2 separate regions of the Homo sapiens genome follow, and region 1 is linked to region 2. Evidence: promoter capture Hi-C in human tissues and cell types (Jung and others, 2019). All regions are on one chromosome and are shown on one strand. Each heading gives the region's core, a stretch centred on a gene start or on the middle of the fragment in contact. The rest is flanking DNA. Distances are from core to core; before and after follow the strand shown. Region 1 has its middle 110 kb from the start of CTB-30L5.1. Region 2 holds the start of COG5 (component of oligomeric golgi complex 5).

What was found. The method cuts DNA at HindIII sites, captures the fragments that hold promoters and counts their contacts. A contact is called where the count stands out against the background at its distance.
Region 1: a contact is called between a fragment that was not itself captured here and the fragment with the promoter of COG5 in region 2, in 1 of the 25 tissues and cell types used here (lymphoblastoid cells).

Annotation. Positions count from the first base shown.
Region 1 is chr7:106,492,036-106,495,492 of GRCh38, reverse strand. No RefSeq gene overlaps it. Among named protein-coding and RNA genes, the nearest start is that of CTB-30L5.1, 110 kb to the left of the region's middle. The HindIII fragment of the contact is 3,547 bases long and covers 1-3,264 here.
Region 2 is chr7:107,561,937-107,565,479 of GRCh38, reverse strand. It overlaps COG5 (component of oligomeric golgi complex 5), which reads left to right and starts at 1,560. Exons shown (of 22, transcript NM_006348.5): 1 at 1,560-1,677. The coding sequence starts at 1,584. DUS4L-BCAP29 (DUS4L-BCAP29 readthrough) reads right to left here and starts at 1,509. Exons shown (of 13, transcript NR_163941.2): 1 at 1,271-1,509; 2 at 804-892. It overlaps DUS4L (dihydrouridine synthase 4 like), which reads right to left and starts at 1,509. Exons shown (of 8, transcript NM_181581.3): 1 at 1,271-1,509; 2 at 804-892. RefSeq lists enhancers at 1-982, 1,513-1,632 and silencers at 1,333-1,432, 1,471-1,681. The HindIII fragment of the contact is 5,630 bases long and covers 400-3,543 here.

The sequences.
Region 1 (3,457 bases), core at 242-2,741, 1.1 Mb after region 2:
TGTGTCTCTATCTCCGTCAGTTCTGTTCTAATCTTAGTTATTTATTGTCGTCTGCTAGGTTTTGAATTTGTTTGCTCTTGCTTCTCTAGTTCTTTTAATTGTGGTGTTAGGGTGTGGATTTTAGATCTTTCCTGCTTTCTCCTGTGGGCATTTCGTGCTATAAATTTCCCTCTAAACACTGCTTTAGCTGTGTCCCAGAGATTCTGGTATGCTGTGTCTTGGGTCTCATTGGTTTCAAAGAACTTGTTCATTTCTGCCTTAATTTCACTATTTACCCAGCAGTCATTCAGGAGTAGGTTGTTCAGTTTCCATGTGGTTGTGTGGTTTTGAGTGAATTTCTTAATCCTGAGTTCTAATTTGATTGCACTGTGGTTTGAGAGACTGTTTGTTATGATTTCTGCTGTTTTGCGTTTGCTAAGGAGTGTTTTACTTCCAATTATGTGGTCAATTTTAGAATAAGTGTGATGTGGTGCTGAGAAGCATGTATATTCTGTTGATTTGGGGTGGAGAGTTCTGTAGATGTCTATTAGGTTCGCTTGGTCCAGAGCTGAGTTCAAGTCCTGAATATTCTTGTTAATTTTCCGTCCCATTGATCTATCCAATATTGACAGTGGGGTGTTAAAGTCTCCCACTATTATTTTGTGGGAGTCTAAGTCTCTTTGTAGGTCTCTCAGAACTTGCTTTATGAATCTGGCTGCTCCTGTATTGGGTGCATATATATATACATATTGGGTGGGATAGTTAGCTCTTCTTGTTGCATTGGTCTCTTTACCATTATGTAATGGCCTTCTTTGTCTCTTTTGATCTTTGTTGTTAGTCTTATGGGCTTCCCTTTGTGGATAACCCAACCTTTCTCTCTGGCTGCCATTAACATTTTTTCTTCATTTCAACCTTGGTGAATCTGATGATTCTGTATCTTGGGGTTGCTCTTTTTGAGGAGTATCTTTGTGGTATTCTCTGTATTTCCTGAATTTAAATGTTGGCCTGTCTTTCTAGGTTGGGGAAGTTCTCCTGGATAATATCCCGAAGAGTGTTTTCCAACTTGGTTCCATTGTCCCCGTCACTTTCACATACACCAATCAAATGTAGGTTTGGTCTTTTCACATATTCGCGTATTTCTTGGAGGCTTTGTTCGTTCCTTTTCATTCTTTTTTCTCTAACCTTGCCTTCACACTTTATTTCATTAAGTTGATCTGCAGTGTCTGATGTCCTTTCTTTTGCTTGATTGATTCGGCTATCGATACTTGTGTATGCTTCACAACGTTCTCGTGCTGTGTTTTTCAGCTCCATCAGGTCATTTATGTCCTTCTCCAAACTGGTTATTCTAGTTAGCAATTCGTCTAACCTTTTTTCAAGGTTCTTAGCTTCCTTGTATTGGGTTAGAACAAGCTGCTTTAGCTTAGAGGAGTTTGTTATTACCCACCTTCTGAAGCCTGCTTCTGTCAATTTGTCAAACTCATTCTCTGTCCAGTTTTGTTCCCGTGCTGGTGAGGAGTTGTGACACTTTGGAGGAGAAGAGGTGTTCTGGTTTTTGGAATTTTCAGCCTTTTTGTGCTAGTTTTTCCTCATCTTCATTGATTTATCTACCTTTGATGTTGGTGACCTTCAGATGGGGTTTTTGTGTGGACATCCTTTTTGTTGATGTTGATGCTATTCCTTTCTGTTGGTTAGTTTTCCTTCTAACAGTAAGGCCTCTCTGCTGCAGGTCTGCTGGAGTTTGCTGGTGGTCCACTCCAGACCCTGTTTGCCTGGGTATCACCAGCGGAGGCTGCAGAACAGCAAAGATTGCTTCCTTTTCCTTCCTCTGGAAGCTTCGTCCCAGAGGGGCACCCAGCAAATGCCAGCCAGAGATCTCCTGTATGAGGTGTCTGTCAACCCCTGCTGAGAGGTATCTGCCTATCAGGATGCACGGGGGTCAGGGACCCACTTGGGGAGGCAGTGTGATCAGAGCCACTTGGGGAGGCTCTGATAAGAGCTTGAATGCTGTGCTGAAAGATTGGCTGCTCTCTTCAGAGCCAGCAGGCAGGAACATTTAGGTCTGCTGAAGCTGCACCCACAGCCACCCCTTCCCCCAGGTGCTCTGTCCCAGGGAGATGGAAGTTTGATCTATAAGCGCCTGACAGGGACTGCTGCCTTTCTTTCAGGGTTGCCCTGCCCAGAGAGGAGGAAACTTGAGAGGCAGTCTGGCTACAGCAGCTTTGCCAAGCTGCGCTGGGCTCTGCCCAGTTCGAACTTCCTGGTGGCTTTGTTTACACTGTGAGGGTAAAATCACCTACTCTAGCGTCAGTAATGGCAGATGCCCCTCCCTGTGCCAAGCTCAAGCATCCCAGGTTGACTTCAGACTGCTGGGCTGGCAGCGAGAATTTCAAGCCAGTGGATCTTAGCTTGCTGGGCTCCATGGGCGTGGGATCTGCTGAACTAGACCATTGGGCTCCCTAGCTTCAGCCCCCTTTCCAGGGGAGTGAATGGTTCTGTCTCACTGGCATTCCATGTTCCACTGGGGTATAAAAAAACCTCCCTAAAGGGGCTGACAGTTGAAGGCTATTGGCCCATGACATTCTCAGGAGCTGGGGCAATGGGGCTTCACTGATGTGGGAGCTGGGCAGTGCATCCTTGTGTCTAGCACATGGCTACTTCAAGTCATTTTTCCCAGCAGACTCTTCTATCACGCCTCAAACTTCTTCCCATTTCTGCCTGAGATAAACTTTCTCCATAGTTTTCAGACCAACATCATTTGCCCCAAACTCTCCACCCCGTCTCATGAGAGAGAGAGAGGGAGAGAGAGAGAGAGAGAGAGAGAGAGAGAGAGAGAGAGACACTAACATAATTACTGAGTTTCCTCTGTCTTCTCCCTCCCTCCCTCCTTCCCTCTGTTTTTCAGTCTCTTGCAGTCAAAAACATACTTGTTCAACACATCCAGCTAGGGTTTAAGGTGTAGTGTGGAATAGGACAGCAGTTTTTTTCTGGGATGCTACTTCATGCGTGGAGCACAAAACTGAGTGTGATCACTTCTAATAAGCTATTTGACTTAGCAAAAGCTAATAATGAGAGAAAAAGATTTTGTTATTTTTATTGTGGCTGTTATTCAGTCACTATAAGCTATCATATTATTATGTAGGGCCTTAAAATTTATTGAGAATCTACAGACAATGGAAAAGACACCAAAAATGTAAGTAGTTAAAACATGTTCCTGTCTTTGAGAAATATAACATGGGATTTGGAAGAAGTTGAGGTTGAAGGAAAATTTAACTGCTTTTTGGGGTTGGCAGGATCTTTAGAGATCTCTCACTTCAGTAGAGGAGAATGCAGCAGTGAGAGCAAAAGTGACTTGTGGTTTGTTTAGAATCACTGAGCAGAAATGGAACCAGAAGTTGGATCTTCATATTCCTAGCTCACTGTACTTTTTATTACTCAAATTGCCTTTATGGCCTCCAGTGTCCCCTCTGCAGAAAGCTAC
Region 2 (3,543 bases), core at 311-2,810:
TTTAAGAATTAGCATGCCCAAGCCATACCCTAGACCAATTAAATCCAAACGTCTGGGCTCAGGATGCAGGCATCAGTGTTTTTATTAAAGCTCTTCAGGTGATTTCAATGTGCAGCTAAGCTTGGAATTACTGGAATAAGTAAATCCAAAGATTCCAAAGCACCTGGTACAATTGTTTGTTTAAATGGGTTCCTACCTTACCTATTAACTCCTTTTAGAATATGGATTGAGTCTTATGTTTGTAAACTCATGAGAGCATGCAGAGTAGAGGGGTCAAAACTTTCGCTGTATGAATGAATATTACTCACTCTTCTAAAATCTTCCACTGGGGGGAATAAAGCCAAGGAAGGAAAAACAATTCCTAATTCACAAGTAATGAATGAATCACCCCTATTCCCATCATGACTAAGATCTTACATACTAGGGAAAATCCTCTGAGACAAAGAGAGCATAATGCAGTGTAGCATAAGACTTGCTTACCTGAGGTGTTATGAGTATGAAATGCATTGAGTTATAAAATACTTAGAACAGCGATAAGCACAGGATAAGTAATAGCACCTTTTTGAAACAGAATGTAGAAAACCACGTAGCTCTGGAACTGGATAAAATTGGTTTCCTGGATACATACCTACTGTACAAAATGAAAAAGTCATCTTCCAGCTTCTTTTTGCGAAGAAGCTTAAGACTGTCTTGCATACTTGTGGTTGCCTGACCCTGTTAATTTATCAGTATTTATCTTAGAAGAAAGAAATCTAGGTCAAAAACGCGAACGTATTAGTAAAGAAGATACAATGGGAACCAACCTGATGCTCTTACAGCGTCAATACTGTTAGTTGAGATGTGGACCATCTATCAGTTTGTAATTAAGAAAAAGTCTGGCACGTGACTGAAACTGAGGAAGAAGTAGAAAAGGCAAAAGGTCAAAGGTCTCATGGGAAGGAAGGAGGGTAGAGACAGTGAGTTTTATTGGTCCTTTTATGGTTCAGACTTCCTTCTTCATCGACTCTCCCTAATTCTCTTCACTGTTCATCCCCAGCAACTTTTCTTCCCAAGCATTTCCTGCGGGCTTTTATTACCCCAGGAGTGCCAATCAAGGCGTGGAACAGATAAAGCTGTGTAGCAACTAACGCGTGACTCTTGTGAGTGTGGAGGGCAAACGAAGCTCCCTGAAACCTCCGCTCTGCTCTCCTGCCTTACGCCGCGCGGCCCCTGTTCTGAGGTTTAATACTTGCTTCACAGATAAGCGCTGCGGCCACGTTCCGGTGCCCACCTTCTCCTTGGCTAGGGCACGACGCCAGCCCAGGGGGCGCGGCCCTGAGCTGCTGCGAGAGACAGCTGAAAGCGCCGGCCCGACGGCCTTGGCTCCCTCGGTGCGCTGGGCGCAGAGCACTCGGACCCTGGGCGCCCACTGCTCGAGTACCTGCGCGGCTCCTAGCCAGGCTTAGCCCAGGCGCGGGCTGAGAGTCAGTTCGCCAGGTGGGCCTGGAGCCATGGGCTGGGTGGGCGGGCGGCGCCGGGATTCTGCGTCACCACCTGGGCGGAGCCGTTCTGCTGCTGACGACATCAACCCGGCACCTGCCAACATGGAAGGTGGCGGCGGCAGCGTCGCTGTAGCTGGCCTCGGAGCTCGAGGCTCTGGAGCGGCTGCAGCTACAGTCCGGGAACTTCTGCAGGACGGTAAGGAGACGGGGTCTGACCAGGTCGTGGGGTTGGGGGTCTGCGCTGCTCCGCACCTGGACAGCGAGGTGGACCCAACCCGTTGCTTTGCAGAAAGTTTTCCAGTCTGGACGTGACCACTCCCCTCCGCCCGGCCCCCTGGCTTGGGTACTGTTCTAGCCAACCTATTTACTCTGGGACTGGCTCCCTCTTTTCTGGAGTCTTGGGGACACTTGGTTTCTGTGTGTTCCTCATTTCAACTCGACCCCCCCCCCCCCCATGCCTCCAGCTTCCCTGAAGTTTCGGGAGCCCAAACCCTGTGGACCGCGTTGGCAGCCACCGGCTGCTGCCGCAGTTCTTGACGAAGGGGTGTAGCGTTCGAGCTCTTCAAAAGTGTAAGCTCTAGAACAGACGGCAGACGCATAATGAAATAGGGCCTTGTTTTAAAGTAGAGCTGGAAACGCTTACTCCTTTAACAAATGGACTGTACAGGTGACCCCTCTTACAGGCTGGTTTTTTTTTTCCTCCTTTATGAGGCAGTTATCTACAGTGACACGTGGGGGAGGGTTTGAGACATTTGTTCAGGTTGGGATTAACCATTTGTACAGAATCTAGCAGTCAGATTTTATTGCTAGTCAGTTTGGAGAGAAGTTGCCCAAAATAAGAAAAGTTAGATATAATATACTTGAAAAGCATATTCAGTTGTGTCAATCCAGTTACCATGTCCCGAATCTCTTATCCTTCAGAATAAAGTTCACATTTATAAGCATAAAAATAAAGCCCTTCTCACCTGTTCTTAATTTTTTCTCTAGTGGCCATCGCATTCTACCTTGTACTAAAATCATTTGTATACTTGTTTTAATCTCTTCTGTATTGCAAACTTTTTTTAATATCCCACAGTGTGAATAGCAGTATCTTGCATACAGTAGGTGCAGAATGTTTTTTAAATTCATCATCGCAGTTAGAAGCACATGCACACATTTGAAGACCGAAGTGGGTAATAAATGAAATAAAGTTCCAAATTATTGTTTATTTTCTCTGACTGTTAAATATTTTATTGTCATCCTGAATTACGTGCCTTTTCATGATAATTTATGTACTTTTGTCAAAAGCAATGATGTTTTCTGAACTATTTCATGTTGGAAACTCTAGGACCGGGTCTCTGTCTAAAACTTGGCTAAACTGAATTTAAACTTTAGATACAAGGCAGAGACCCTGATATATTTGCAGTTGCTCCTGATACACGTGCAATTTTTGCCCTCAAGTAGTTCACCATCTAGTAGAGGAAATAATCTTGTAGACTATAAAGGTAGGTGCTGTAATATAGTGATGTAAGATAGCAGTAGGATTGCATATAAAGTAGAGCATTAATACAGAGGAGAATGATAACTGGGGGTTGGAAACTGGTTAGGAAATGTCAGAAAAGGCTTTCTAGGTGGAGACGTTTTAAACTGTAGACAGGACTTCCCCAGGTGAACAGTGGAACATTGGATATATGTTTCAGTAGGATGTATTTCAGGAATTGTAATCAGTTCTTGGACGGTAAATACTCTTCAGTTCTGCCTTCTGTATTTTCCTCCTTGGTTCTCTGCCATTCTCCACAGTGATTGTTTAAATCTTCTTTACCCTTTTCAAACCTTTCGCTTCAAGCTCAACAAATGACTTTAAGCTTCCCTGGGGAGAAAAAGAGGATCCATCAGATGTGAACTTTCTCCATTTCTTGCCCATCAAACCTATGAATTTAACCTCAACGTATAACCATCTGTTGCACCTTTTTTCCCTTGCCTTTTCAATTGCAACGGAAGTGGAGCCTCTGCTCCTTTCTTTCTTTCTTTCTTTTTTTTTTTTGAGACGGAGTCTCGCGCTGTTGCCCAGGCTGGAGTGCAG